Regions from separate parts of the Homo sapiens genome. Here regions 1, 2, 3 and 5 are each linked to region 4. The links are contacts of gene promoters, found by promoter capture Hi-C in blood cells and fetal thymus (Javierre and others, 2016). All regions are on one chromosome and are shown on one strand. Each heading gives the region's core, a stretch centred on a gene start or on the middle of the fragment in contact. The rest is flanking DNA. Distances are from core to core; before and after follow the strand shown. Region 1 overlaps LOC124904504 (a long non-coding RNA gene). Region 2 overlaps PLXNA2 (plexin A2). Region 3 overlaps PLXNA2 (plexin A2). Region 4 holds the start of G0S2 (G0/G1 switch 2). Region 5 has its middle 13 kb from the start of MIR29B2CHG.

Region 1 (2,700 bases), core at 133-2,632, 1.7 Mb before region 4:
GTAAGAATTTATCTGTAAAGAACAATTTTGGCTTTTCCCAAGAATCCAGTGCAACACTGAATAGTAGCCGGAGGTACTTATTTCTTACCAGGAGTTATTTTGGATTGCATCTTAGGTTTCATTCAAGATATCTTCTGCAGGTTTATGGTGTGTGTGTGTGTGGGTGTATAGGCAAATTATGTTCTTTTCGTAGTTTACCATATCGGTTTTTTTTTTAATCAGCAAATGACTAAGTTTTACCAAGTATTTTCAGTATCAGTCTTTGAGATGATTGTATGGCCTTTTTTCCATTACTCTACAATAAAATAACTACAATAATAGATTTTCTAATGGTGAGCCAAACTTAGAATCCTGGTATCTTATTTTTTCAATATATTGCTGGATGCAATTTGCTGTGTAGTTAATTTTGGATTTTCATGTATGCACCTAAGTTAGATTGGCTTATGGTTTTCTTTTGCTGTCCTTGTCTAGTTTTGGTATCAGGTTGTGCTAGGAGTCAGACAGGTTAACTTATTTTTGTATGACCTGGAATAGACATAGCATGTGTGAATGATACATTTCTTAGGTTTTGAAGAACTCATCTTTAAAGCCTTCTGGGTGTGGTGCCATCTTAATGGATAGTTTTGTTTTTTATATAGCGTCCATCGTTATTGATACCTAGAATTTTTTCTTTTGCTTCTTGAGAAAATTAGTTTTTTCTAGAAAAGTATTGGCCGGGTGCGGTGACTCACGCCTGTGATCCCAGCACATTGGGAGGCCGAGGAGGGCGGATCACGAGGTCAGGAGATCGAGACCATCCTGGCTAACACGGTGAAACTCCGTCTCTACTAAAAATACGACAATGAAAAATTAGCCGGGCATGGTGGCGGGCGCCTGTAGTCCCAGCTACTCAGGAGGCTGAAGCAGGAGAATGGCTTGAACCCGGGAGGCGGAGCTTGCAGTGAGCTGAGATTTTGCTACTGCACTCCAGCCTGGGGGACAGAGCGAGACTCCATCTTTAAAAAAAAAGTATTTCAGCTATATTTTCTAACATTTAAAAAAATCTCATATTGTTCTCAACCATTCTTATATATTCTTATATATATATTCTTATATATTGTATTGGAGTCTTTTTCTTGATCATATTTATCAAACCAGCTTTTGGTTTTATAGATAAAATCTGTCTTAAAAGTAATTTCTCTTTCATTAATGTATGCCTTCATTAATTTCTTCTTATCTCTTTGGGTTTATTTTGTTCTTTTTATAGAATCTTGGAAGCTTAACTTTCCTTTAAAATGTTTAATATGAAATATTACCAGAATGTACAGTTACAGAAAATAATATAATGAACACTTGTATACCAACCATCTAGCTTTATCCCATTTTAACATTTTCTCTTATTTGCTTCAGATTTTAACATTCAGTTAGAGCTCCTTGTGAAACTGCCTGCAATCTCATTCTCCCTCTCTTCCTCTCTGAAATTAACTACTTCATTGAATTTGGTATCTGTCATTCCCATGAAAGCTTTTATGTATGCTCCAAATACATGTAGCGATGTTAAGTAGCATAAAGTACTGTTTTATGCTTTTTAAACCTAATATAAATGATATGCATGTCACTTACTTTTGCCACCTATAATTATGTATGTAAAATTTATCCAGGATGATTCCTGTAGTTCTAGTTTTATTTTAACTGCTGAATAGTATTCCATTGTATAATTGTACCACCATTTATCCATTCTCCAGTTGCTAGCAATTTCATGATTCCTGATTTCTGTCATTATAACATGAGTTAGTTCTTGCACACAGCTTCTTAGACATATGGTAAGAATTTCCTTAGGATAATGTCTAGAAATGGAATTGCAAGGTGGAAGGGTTTGCACAGTTCAACTTTGATATTGCCAAATTGTTCTCCAGTGGTTGTACTAACTTACCCTCCATCAGCAATGTAGGAGAGCTGCTGTTGCTCCATTCCATGCCAACACAGGTTATTTTTTTGCCCCAGTTTTTTTGTTTTGTTGTTTGGTTTTTTTTTTGCTGTTACCAACTGCTGACAGTAAATTTTCTTGTACATGTTTCCTGGTACACGTGTGCAAGAGTTTCTCTGACTATAAAGCTAATGCAGTTATTAACTCTATTTTGTTTTCGGTATGTTTTTTAAAAGCATGTACATGTCCCCCTCATTTGAGATTTCTCCCTGTTAATACTAACACTTAACTTATTCATAGATATATCTCACTCATTTTTTTCTATGTATCATGCTTCCTGTTCTCTTTACTGCCTTTGGTTTGACAGTCTTTTTTTCCAGTTTTTTTCCCGCTTTAGTGGTTTGAAAGTTATATTTGATTTTTATTCTATGAATAGTAGTTACTCTTCTAACTCATTTAAAGGTGTATCTTTATATATATGTGTGTGTGTGTGTTTAGAATTCATCAGTATCCATATGAGGCAGTCTGTGTAGTGGTTAAGAGTGGAGCCTGTGAGGCCAGACTGCCTGGATTCAGATCCTAGCACTACCACTTATTAGCTGAGTAACCTAGAGCTTATTACATAAACTCTCTGTGCCTCAGTTGTTTCATCTGTAAAGTGGGGATAATACAGCATATACCTCATGAGGTTGTTCTAAGATTAATATGTTAATATATGTAACATTCTTAGGACAGTGCCTAATGCTTGGATCTCTTTACCAGATTTTTCATCTATGGAATGGGCAGAAGACTTG
Region 2 (2,700 bases), core at 55-2,554, 1.6 Mb after region 4:
AAGTGTTTCCCTTGTTTTCCTTCTGAATCCTGCAAACGATATACACACTTTTTATTCTACAACCAGTCAATAGATATCAGTGCTCTTAAGGCCAAGTAATAACACAACTTAAAAGTCCCATTAAGACGCAAATACAGCTTTCCGTACTTGCTGTATACAAATACAGAAAGGGAGGAGGGAACAGCTGAATGAAAGGTGCCTAAAGTGGGGGAAAGAACCCCAGGGAGGAAAACACAAAAGAACATGGGAAAGATACCAAATGTTTATCCTCCACTGGGTTTTGCCCAGGGCCAGCCTGGTTAATGGCGTGTGTGACAAGCAAAGGAAGTCATCTTCGCAGGCCCTCCTTACTGCACATCAATCAATCAGGCCTTTGCTGAAGGCACGACCCGAGTGCGGGTCACTACACTCTCAAAAGATGCATAGAAATCCGAGAGTCCACAGAAAAGCATCCAAAATGATCAAAGGGTTTAGAAACCAAGATCTTCGGTGAAAAGGCTGGAAGGACTGCAGAAGCAAAGGCCAGGGGTGACTTAATTGCTGTCTTCAGTAGCTAAAAGATGTTTGATGAGGAGGCAGCTGTTCAGTCCTCCATTCGATGAGGAATCAAACCAGAAATTGGCTTAAATTAAAGCAAGGGAGATTGCAGGAAGAGCTGTTTAATGATCCTGATGTTAAAATACTACATCACTCTCAAGCAACAGTTAGGTACCTCCACTCATCCAGTCATCATTAAAGAATACAGTCTGTTCTAGTGTCTGGTTGAGACCAGCATTTCCTTTTAACAGAGAATTGGGGATATTTATTGACAGTTACTCGTTCCAGGCAGCGTGCTAAGGATTAGTTTCCTAAGAAAAGCTAGATAGTCCCTTGTCCCAAGATAGTTATCGTCTTATTGAGGGAATAAGCAGTTACAATGCAGTGTGGCAATTGTGGTCCTGGAGGTGTTCATAGAAGGAAGTGGGAGGGTAGAAGAAGGGGCTAGTAAATCTACTAAGGGAGTCCAGGGAGGCCTCCCTGAGGAGGCATCTTTTGAGTAGAGACTTGAGGATGGGTAGGCATTTGTCAGTGGACATGCTTGACCAGCACAGGGAACAGCATGTCAAATGCATAGAGGCTTTACACCCTATAAAGCTATAGCTGTGGGGGCCCTTGAGCTCTCCCAGCGAGCACATGTACAGTCATGCATCGCTTAACCATGGGGATACATTCTGACAAATGTGTCATTAGACGATTTCATCCTTGTGTGAACATCATGGCATGTATTTACACAAACCTAGACAGTGTACCCTACTACACACCTAGGCTGCAAACCTGTACTGCATGTGACTGGTCCTGAACACCATGGGCGATTGTAACACAATGGTAAGTACTTGTGTATCTAAACATAAAAATGGGATGGTAAAAATATGATATAAAAGATTAAAAATGGTACGCCATATAGGGTATTTACCATGAATGGAGCTTGCAGGACTGGAAGTTGCTCTGGGTGAGTTCAGTGAGTGGTGAGTGAATGTGAAGGCCTAGGACGTTACTGTACACTACCATAGACTATAAACACAGTATGCACTTAGGCTACACTAAATTCATTAAAAAATTGTTTCCTTCTTTAATTATAAATTAACCTTAGTTATTATAACTTTTTTTTTTTTTTTTGAGACGGAGTTCCACTCTTGTTGCCCAAGCTGGAGTGCAATGGTGCGATCTCGGCTCACTGCAACCTCTGTCTCCCGGCTTCAAGTGATTCTCCTGCCTCAGCCTCCCGAGTAGCTGGGATTACAGGCATGCAACACCAAGCCTGGCTAATTTTGGATTTTTAATAGAGACAGCGTTTCCCCATGTTGCTCAGGCTGGTCTCAAACTCCCGAACTCAGGTGATCCGCCTGCCTCGGCCTCCCAAAGTGCTGGGATTACAGGCATGAGCCACTGCGCCCGGCCAGTTACTATAACTTTTTACTTTATAGACTTAATTTTTTAACCTTTTGACTCTTTGTAATAACACTTACCTTAAAACACATACATTGTACAGCTGTACAAAAATATTTTCTTTCTTTATATCCTTATTCTATAATATTTTTTCTATTTTTGAAATTCACTTTTTTACTTTTTAAATTTGTTTTGTTAAAGACTAAGACACAAAGACACACATCAGCCTAGGCCTACCCAGGGTCAGGATCATCCATATCACTGTCTTCCACCTCCTTATCTTGTCCCACTGTGAGGTCTTCAGGGGCAATAGCATGCATAGAGCTGTCGTCTCCTATGATGACAATGCCTTCTTCTGGAATCCCTCCTGAAGGTCCTCCCTGAGGCTGTTTTCCAGTTAGCTTTTTTTAAATAAGTAGAAGGAGTACACTCTAAAATAACAATAAAAAATATAGTGAGTACATAAACCAATAACCTAGTCATTTAGCATCATTATCAAGTATTATGTGCTGTACATAATTGTATATGCTAGGCTTTCCTATGACTTATGACTGCCACAATGCCACAAGGTGGTAGGAATTTTTCAGCTCCATTATGATCTTAAAGAACCATCGTCGTATATATGGTCCGTCATTGACCAAAACGTCAATATGCAGCACAAGACTGTAGTCCATAAGAGGACAGGGCCAGGACTCTGGGGGTCCCAAGTGTGAGGGGCGGGCAGAGGAGGGGCACACAGGCAGTGCCAGCACAGCACAGAGGGGAAAGCCTCAG
Region 3 (2,700 bases), core at 27-2,526, 1.5 Mb after region 4:
TGATTCCTTCTGATGGCTGTGAGGGAAGGAGCTGTTCCAGACCTCTCTTCTGAGCTTGTAGATGGTCAGATGAGGATGTGGATGTCTCTTTACATCACCTGGCCTCTGTGAGTGTCTGTCTCAGGCTCCACATTTCCCCCTTTTTATAAGGACACCAGATCACACCGCATTAGAGCCTACCCTAGTGACCTCATCTTAACCTGATTACCTCTGTAGAGACCCTGTCTCAGGGACGGGTGCCATGGCTCACGCCTGTAATCCCAGCATTTTGGGAGGCCGAGGCTAGAGGATCACTTGAGCCCAGGAGTTCAAGACCAGCCTGGCTAGCATCATGAAACCTCATCTCTACAAAAATAAAAATAAAAATTAGCCAGGTGTAGACAGGTGCCTGTGGCCCCACAGATCCCTGTGGTTCCTAGGGCTGATGTGGGAGGATGGTTTGAGTCCAGGAGATGGAGGCTGCAAGGAGCTGAGATCGCGCCACTGCACTCCAGACTGGGAGACAGAGCGAGACCCCGTCTCAAAAAAACCAAACCAAAACAACAGTAACAAAAGACACCGTCTCAAATAAGAACACATTCTGAGGTACTTAGGGTTAGGCTTCAACACAGGAATTTCCAGGGGACACAATTCAGCCTTTAACTCAATCCCTCGCTTTCTTGCTAGTATCCAGCCCCTGCACTTGTGCCCCATTACCCTGCCTCTGTTCACCACTGCAGAGATGGAGGGTCCCTCACTGTCACGCACATATGTAAGATCTAAGGGCCTTGTCCAAAGCTGAGAGCCGCACGCAGCTCCCCTCTCACAGCCCCTGCTGCCTCACCGCCTGGAGTATGGGTTCTTTCCTTATTACTGATCGAGATTTTGAGAGCCTCCCCAAATTTCCATCTCTTACTCCTTGGTTATTGGAGCGTGGATGTAGTTTATCCCACCTGTGAAACGAATCGCATATATGAAGATAAGCAGGAGATCCACCTTCTCATAGTAAGAGAGGGTGACTGGGTAGAAATTGTCACCCAAATTTGTCTTGACACCTCCTGGAGGGGCCACAGTGTCATCTGTGTCACCTTCTCAGAGAAGGCTGCCAAGGGTACATGCAGGCAGAGACCTATTTTCCTCCCCTCTCTCCTCTCACCTTCCTTCTTCACTCTGGGGCAAGGTATAGCCACTTCGCTTCACATAACCGCACAGAGTCTAGGGAAAAAATGACATTCGATTAATGAAGCAAACGCAGCTGGTACAGAAGTGACATCTAAATTGTTCCTTTGGTCCCGCTATTTTCCATAGGAAATTCTTTCTCTCCTCACCCCCCTCCCCCTTTTCCCTTTAAATCGCGTGCATAAAATATACTAATAACAATCTTCGGTGTCTGTGCATGAGTGACAGCTGAAATAAGAAAAAGACTAATCGTACCTCCTGCAGCCCTGTCACATGGAGATTAAATGAGTCTCTCTCCCCACCCTCTCCCTGCTCCCCACCCCCTCACCCCCACTCTCTCCTCTCTCTTGGTTCTCAATGAGAATCATGGGCATTTGAATAATAATATTATAGACGCCATCAGAGTGACAGTGGGGAAAAAATCAGCTCAAACCCATGATTATTCCTTCACTCTAATAATTATTTAAATACCAGATAACTCCTTTCACTCTAATTGAGGACTTTCAGCCGTCGGCATTACCCGGGGCTTTTGCGTTCGCCCTCTTGCTCACCTTGTGCTACCCAACGTGCCTGGACTACCTCTAAGGTCGGTGTTAGACAGAGCGATGCTCAGAATGCTTGCACGTACAGCTGCACAAGGGATATGAAGACAGGTCCTTCAGTAGCATTCCACCCACGGGGAAAAGATGGGGCCTCAGACTCTCACATTTAGACAATTTTATTCTCACAGAAATCTTAAACCAAAAGGAGCCTTCTGAGATCATTGGGACCAATCCCCTGCCTCTAGGTAAACTGATTCCTAGGCAGCTTCCAGGAAAATTCAATATCAGAAAATTTCAGAATCTCCTTGGCAGGATGCTCTGCAGATCCTCTCTAGGCAGAATGTCCCCCTTAATATCTAACTTTAATCCCTTCTGCTGTAGCTCTAACTCTTTGGGAAGAAGGAGCTTTCTGTGCATAGACTAAATCTGACCTGTCCGTGGGGTTGTGGCAGAGGACACCATAGCCCCCAAGTTACAGCATAGGTGACGGTCCTGAGTGTGACATTTGCCTGGGCCTGCCTGGGCCTAGAAGAGGACAGAAGCAATCATTCTCCCCAAGGGGGAAAGGAGCCATTCGGACATGTGTCTTTCTTTCATTCTGCCCCTTAATCCGCCCCTCTTTGAATCTGCCCTGAGCACCACCTCGTTGTCCAGGCCCAATGCCACACTCACTTCTGCGTATCATGGGGCTATTATCAAAGGCATCCACTTTCCCGAAAACAGGACAGCCTGAAGGCAAAACGTAACTAACTCCCAGGACCCTTCCACCTACAATGGAGGAAGCGCCTGCCTTTTTGTCATGAGGTCTGGGTTCTGACTGCAGCCTGTTTCTGACTCACTTTGAGTCGCCCTGGTCAATTTGTTTCCTTTCTGTGGGCTGTGGTGTCTTTCATATTAAAAAAAAAAAAAAACAGTGGGTTGGAATAATCTTATAATCTCCCTCAGCATTCTCCTGCTTTAAAGGCACTACTCATTAGAAGGAAGAGCTGAAGGAGAAGAC
Region 4 (2,700 bases), core at 102-2,601:
GTATCAGCCATGGGAACCTCTGGTGCACAGGTGTAAGGAACAAAGAGCTTTTCTGCCTTAGAATTAATCAGTTATCTCCTACTCACTGTAGCTCAGAAGTTGATCTACCTTTTGATGTTAAAATGCTAAATCTCACGGAAGTTATAAAATTTTCTCTCTTCCCACCCCTAACAAGAAGGAAAAACAAGTCCTCAACAGACTTATATGCATGTAGTAACTTATTACACAGTTCCTAGGTGTGAAGCAAGTGTCTGACCCTCAGGAAGCTGCTCCCTCTGCAGTGCTCAGGTAAGAACCCATCACCATCGCCCACCTGCTCACCCTCCCTGCTTCCCACCCCAGGACACCACACCTCTCAGGAATTACATGAGATATGGTATAAAAAGTTTTTTTATTTCAAAATGCAAAATGGTGGTCATTGTAATAATTAATAATAATAACATAAAAAGCATTTATCCTTCCTCCCTAGTGCAAAATGGTAGACGCATTTAGATAATTCACACAGTGTTGGAAATGTCATGACAATGCAGTGCTGCACAGCAGCAAAACTCAATCCCAAACTCCTTTGGTGGATGCTTGTGGTAGGTCAGTTCTAGATGTCAGCGGTTTCTCTGAAGTTAAGTCCAAATAAAAAACAGCACGTGCTCCTGCACTCTCCCAGCGGAGTCAGGCTCCTGTGCGCGCGCCCCCTCTGTCTCTCCATTCCTCTCTCGGTCTGTCTCTGTCTACTGCGTCTCCCTCCCACTCCGCTGGTCTCCCACAGTTCCTAGGAGGCGTGCTGCCGGTTGGACAGGGCCCGGCCGCCGAGGACCGTGTCCTGCTGCTTGCCTTTCTCCTGCAGGGCTTGCTTCTGGAGAGCCTGTCGCTCCAGGGCGGCCTGCAGCTCCGCCACGGCTGCCTCCTGGTCCCGCAGACGTCTGGCGGCCGTGAAGGGGCTGCACACAGTCTCCATCAGGCCGAGCACCACGCCGAAGAGGGCCAGCACGCTGCCCAGCACGTACAGCTTCACCATCTTCCCCTTGCGCTTCTGGGCCATCATCTCCTTGGCCAGGGGGATCAGCTCCTGGACCGTTTCCATCTCGGCTCTGGGCTCTCGGAGGCGGGAATGACCTGCAGGAGGAGCAGCAGGAGAGGGGCTTCAGCCACCAAAGAACGGCTCCCACCACCCCGCACCCAGCTAATCTTGGGGAGGGCTCATAGAAAGGCGGACTACCTTAGTGGCACGGCGCGAGCAGGAGGCAGCGCGAGCTGCAGTTGGCAGCGGTCAGCGCGTCCGTTGGTCCGACCGACCTCAGCGTTCTCCTCCTCTCGGCAGCTGCAGCTCTCCCAGTTGGAGACTCCGCCGCTGGCACCGCTTTAGCGTCCGGGGGCCGCTTATATCTTTTCTCTGAGACACGCCTCCTGGGCTCTCCGGCCCAGGCCAGCGCGGTCAGAGCCAGGGGAACTCGGAGGGGGAGGAAGAAGAGGAGGGGAAAAGGAGGGGGTGGAACCCGGCTGGGACCTGGCAGGAGGTGGCCACGCGCTGAGCACGCTCCGACTGTGTGAGCTAGGGGGCCCGGCGCGGGTGCCATCGCAGCGGGGCGCGTGGGAAGGCCAGTGTGCACGCGAAGGTCCCACTCCAGGCGAGCGCAGGGGAGGACCCGGAGCCCAGGGAGGTGTCCGCGGACATCTCTGACATGGCGGCAACCTTCTTACTGGTGTCAGCGGGTGCACAGCTTCCCTTGTCCAGGACAGCCTGACATTATAAATAATGAGGGAATTTGGGGGTTCCATCTAAAGAAGAAAGCTTTCATTTTTATTCGGAAGGGTTGTCACCTTCCCACGTGTGTGGCAATGGATCAGAGAGGAGAAGGCAAGGGGGAAGGATCTGGGTAACAGGACAGAACAGGTTACGCTTGGATAAAGCAATATGTGCTAATATTGTTTCTTTCCTGCCTGGTTGGTTTTATTTAGAGGTACATGCATGTATAACTAGAGTCAGTTGATAGAAAACTATTCATTGATGGTGCTTTTATGCACAGAGGTGTGTGTGTGTGTGTGTGTGTGTGTGTGAGAGAGAGAGAGAGAGAGAGAGAGAGAGAGAAAGAGAGAGAGATTAGTCTCTTTGCCTGCGAGCTGTTTCCTTATGTACTTCCGTGTATCAGGGAAGAGCCTTCAAATTCAAATTGTTCTCACTTCCACTTGAGAAGTGGAGTTGGGAGCTTGGGGGTAGGGGGTCAAGTATGGAAGGGGCTGTTGGTAGAAGTTCATCTGCCATTTTAGAATGGAAGTATTTCATGCTCTCCTCAATAATTCTCTGCCACCCTCCTGGGTTTGGGGGTACAACTTCACTGCTCCAGCTCAACTTCAGCTTTGAAGCAGTTTGTGGGCAGAAGGGCGTGTAGTAGACAGCTTAGGTAAGAATCCAGAGTGTGAGTACTCTTGGACGTGTGAAGATGTAGGATTGATTTTGACCAGGGTTAGCTGTAATCACCTGGGGCTGAGGGAGCGTTCTAGTTTGGCTTTGGTTATGGATATGCTAGAGTTAGCAAACTTGGGGAAAAAGAGAGGCAAATTGGCCAAAGGGTTAGCAAACTTGGGGAAAAGGAGAGGCAAATTGGCCAAAGGCCTTTAAGCAGAGAAAGGGAGGGGGCAGGGGAAAGAAGGGGAAATCAAACTGGCCAGAAAATTGCAAAGGTCAGTGATGCAATCTTGCAACAG
Region 5 (2,726 bases), core at 197-2,696, 1.8 Mb after region 4:
GATCTCCCAGAGGGGGACAAGGAGAACATAGAGGTCTGGTGGGACTGAGGGCAGCCTTGGGAGGAAGCCAGAGCCCTGTAAACGGGCTCTCAGCCAGATGGAGAATCTAGTTCTATTCCTCATCTCCCAAAGTGGGGGTCGGTGGTGGTCAGGGCCGTGGGGCCCAACAAGGGCTGCAGGGAGGTAGCCTCTGTCCCTGGTCCTTCTGCAGGCCCCAGGGAGATGGCTGAGTCCTGGAGGTCAGCTGGCCAGCTTCCATTCTGTGCCTGAGCAGGTTACCAATCACCGGGAGGAGGGACGCATTCCACGGTGAAGCTCAGCTTTATCATCTTGGCCAAGGAGCAAAGTTTACTCAGAAAGAGTTCCTGCCATTTTTTAACTTGTTACTTGGTTCTGCATATGAGAGAGAAAAAGGAGATGGGGGAGCCAAGTGTTGGGATGGGTGTGGGAAGGAGGTTAAATGTTGAGATTGGCTTGCTGGGACACATTTCTTATACAAAGGTGATACATGACGACTCTGGGGATAGCCTACAGGTAGGCAGGAAGTGGCCAGTCAGTTGTATCTCAGCATTGTATGATTCCAAAAATGAGGGGTAAACTTGGTATTTCGAATGTTTAGAAGTAGGCCTCACGGAAGTTGTGCTGTGTTTCCTTCCTGTGTTCATCGGCCTGTTTGCCCAGTGGATGGTTACTGGACATGGATGTGCACCATGTGGTGGCTTAAAGGGCTGTAAGACGCAGTCCAGGCCCACGAGAAGCTTCCTAGCAGTGAGGCTGTTTTATAACTGTTCCCAAATCATGTTAGCTCTGGAAGCTATTTCAGGAACGCCTTTGGTTATGAACCGTATCTTATATTTAATTTTGATTCTCTTTTCCCTCCTGTCCTGGATTCAGTAGCAGCATCCACACTGTGTGCCTGGCTGTGTCGTAGGTGTTGGAAGTACTTAGAAGAATTAGGAGGTACTTGGTAAAAGCTTGTTAATTAACTAAAGTGGGGACCTAGAACCATCTCCAAAGAACTTTTGGTCTTCTCTTGTGCAGTCAAGACTCTTCATGTCTCAAAAGGACCCTGAGCTTCTGTCTGGAGCGCATCAGAATCTGTGAAATGCCTGGATCTAGGCCATAAAGTAGAGGGTTTGTCCCCCTCTTTTCCTTGGTTGCTGTATGTTCTTAATAACAGTAAGAGTTTTAGCCCACCGCAGGAGGCACTTGAAGGCATGCAAAGCTCCACCTCTCCACCTACCTCCTAGGGCCCTGGGTGGCACTCCTCTGCTCCTTTCCTTTCTTCTTCTGTTACCGTATCAGGTAAGGCCACTTTCTACTCTTAGTTGAAATTTACAGTTGGTAGCCATGGGGAACCATTAGAGTCTCTGGTCTTTGATTCCCTGGGAGAGGGTGGGTCTGACAGTGGCCTTCCCACCTGTGTGATGAGGACAGCTGATTTCTGTCTCCTTTGTTCTCAGCCTCACATGGGGTCACAGGGAAAAGGAAAACACATAAAAGATCCCCAGGGCTCAGATTTGGGGTTGCACTGTTTTTAGTCCAGAGCCAGCTGTCCTTGGCATCCGTCAGGCAGAGGGGTGAGGTGATTGCTGGTGTTTGTGACACTACAGGTTGAGTGTCCCTTTGATATTTGCTTGGGGACCCTTTCCAGAAGCTGCAGTTAGAAGAGCACATTCTTGTTTGATACATTTAGATCAAAGGAAGGAGAGAGTAGGAGAAACCTCAGAGGACCTGTGTGGGTGGGCAGGGAAGGGATTCACATCAAGTGAGCCCATTTCCAGTGTGTTTGTTGGGGATTTAGGGGTTGTCATGTTGACAGGCCTAATCTAGTCCAATCAGGCAATCAGCAAGTATTGATTGAGTGCTGCTAGAAGTATCGCTTTGGCAAGAATGAAAAAAGAATTTTGAAGCTTGCCTGGACCCTTTCTTTGAAAAGTTCAGACTCTAATTGGAGGCTACAGATGAGCCACGTGTGACATGAGACATGACAGCCTATTATCTTGGCTCTAAATTGTAACAAGGGGTTAAACTGTTGGCATCTGGAGAAGGAAGAACAATCATGGCAAACGTGGGGCCTGCAGGATTGCTGTCTATCTCATCTGGGAAAGAGTGAAGGATACAGGTAGACATATTGCTTAGTCTAGTAGAGTCCATGGGTCTCAGACTCTTGTCCAACATCAAGAGTATCAAAGCACCTTCTCCTTGCTGGAGTTTGGCCACGTGGAAAGAATCTATCCAGCTAACTCTCGAAAAAGGAGCAGGTGAGCATTGGGATTGATTCCCAGCTAAGGGAAATTGAGCAGATTAATGGAGATAATATATGTGAAATGGCTTAGTGTGTGTCATACAGAAATAATTCAACAAAGGCTTATTGGCAGATTCCTAAGCTCAAGACTGAGAGGGTCTGAAGAAGGCACATAGCAAGGTTTTAATTATTGTGTGTATGGGAGGGCTGGGTTGGGAGTTGAGGGGCAGGGGAAGATTAAGCAAGACAGGGAGTGAGGACTCCTAAGGGAGGAAGAAGGTTCTCTGGGAGATCAGAGCCGGCTGCCCTTTGGCCTTCTCAGGCCACTTTTGGAGGGCCGCTCCAGTTCCTGATCTCAATTAGGAGGGAAAATGTCAAACTACTAGTTGAAGTACAGAGCAGAGCTGCTGGCACGTGAAGAGTGGTTAAAAACATGAGACTGCGTGGCCCAGAGAGGTAGAGATTTTGGTGAGAGGGG

Evidence for each region. The method cuts DNA at HindIII sites, captures the fragments that hold promoters and counts their contacts. A CHiCAGO score of 5 or more calls a contact.
Region 1: a fragment that was not itself captured here is called in contact with the fragment with the promoter of G0S2 in region 4 in 1 of 17 cell types (neutrophils); the score reaches 7.7 in neutrophils.
Region 2: a fragment that was not itself captured here is called in contact with the fragment with the promoter of G0S2 in region 4 in 1 of 17 cell types (M0 macrophages); the score reaches 9.0 in M0 macrophages.
Region 3: a fragment that was not itself captured here is called in contact with the fragment with the promoter of G0S2 in region 4 in 1 of 17 cell types (M0 macrophages); the score reaches 5.3 in M0 macrophages.
Region 5: a fragment that was not itself captured here is called in contact with the fragment with the promoter of G0S2 in region 4 in 1 of 17 cell types (neutrophils); the score reaches 5.2 in neutrophils.

The regions. Positions count from the first base shown.
Region 1 is chr1:211,379,495-211,382,194 of GRCh38, reverse strand. LOC124904504 (a long non-coding RNA gene) reads left to right here. Exons shown (of 2, transcript XR_007066868.1): 2 at 1-2,700. Among named protein-coding and RNA genes, the nearest start is that of LINC00467, 1.9 kb to the left of the region's middle. The HindIII fragment of the contact is 246 bases long and covers 1,260-1,505 here.
Region 2 is chr1:208,066,301-208,069,000 of GRCh38, reverse strand. All of the region lies in intron 12 of PLXNA2 (plexin A2), which reads left to right. Among named protein-coding and RNA genes, the nearest start is that of LINC02767, 110 kb to the right of the region's middle. The HindIII fragment of the contact is 3,089 bases long and covers 1-2,700 here.
Region 3 is chr1:208,223,143-208,225,842 of GRCh38, reverse strand. All of the region lies in intron 1 of PLXNA2 (plexin A2), which reads left to right. It overlaps LOC105372884 (a long non-coding RNA gene), which reads right to left. Exons shown (of 5, transcript XR_001738428.3): 4 at 1,136-1,194; 5 at 1-139. Among named protein-coding and RNA genes, the nearest start is that of PLXNA2, 20 kb to the left of the region's middle. The HindIII fragment of the contact is 6,580 bases long and covers 1-2,700 here.
Region 4 is chr1:209,674,063-209,676,762 of GRCh38, reverse strand. G0S2 (G0/G1 switch 2) reads right to left here and starts at 1,351. Exons shown (of 2, transcript NM_015714.4): 1 at 1,214-1,351; 2 at 373-1,110. The coding sequence starts at 1,078. The coding sequence ends at 767. All of the region lies in intron 1 of HSD11B1-AS1 (HSD11B1 antisense RNA 1), which reads left to right. RefSeq lists an enhancer at 391-1,239. The HindIII fragment of the contact is 4,554 bases long and covers 1-1,788 here.
Region 5 is chr1:207,834,288-207,837,013 of GRCh38, reverse strand. No RefSeq gene overlaps it. Among named protein-coding and RNA genes, the nearest start is that of MIR29B2CHG, 13 kb to the right of the region's middle. The HindIII fragment of the contact is 939 bases long and covers 977-1,915 here.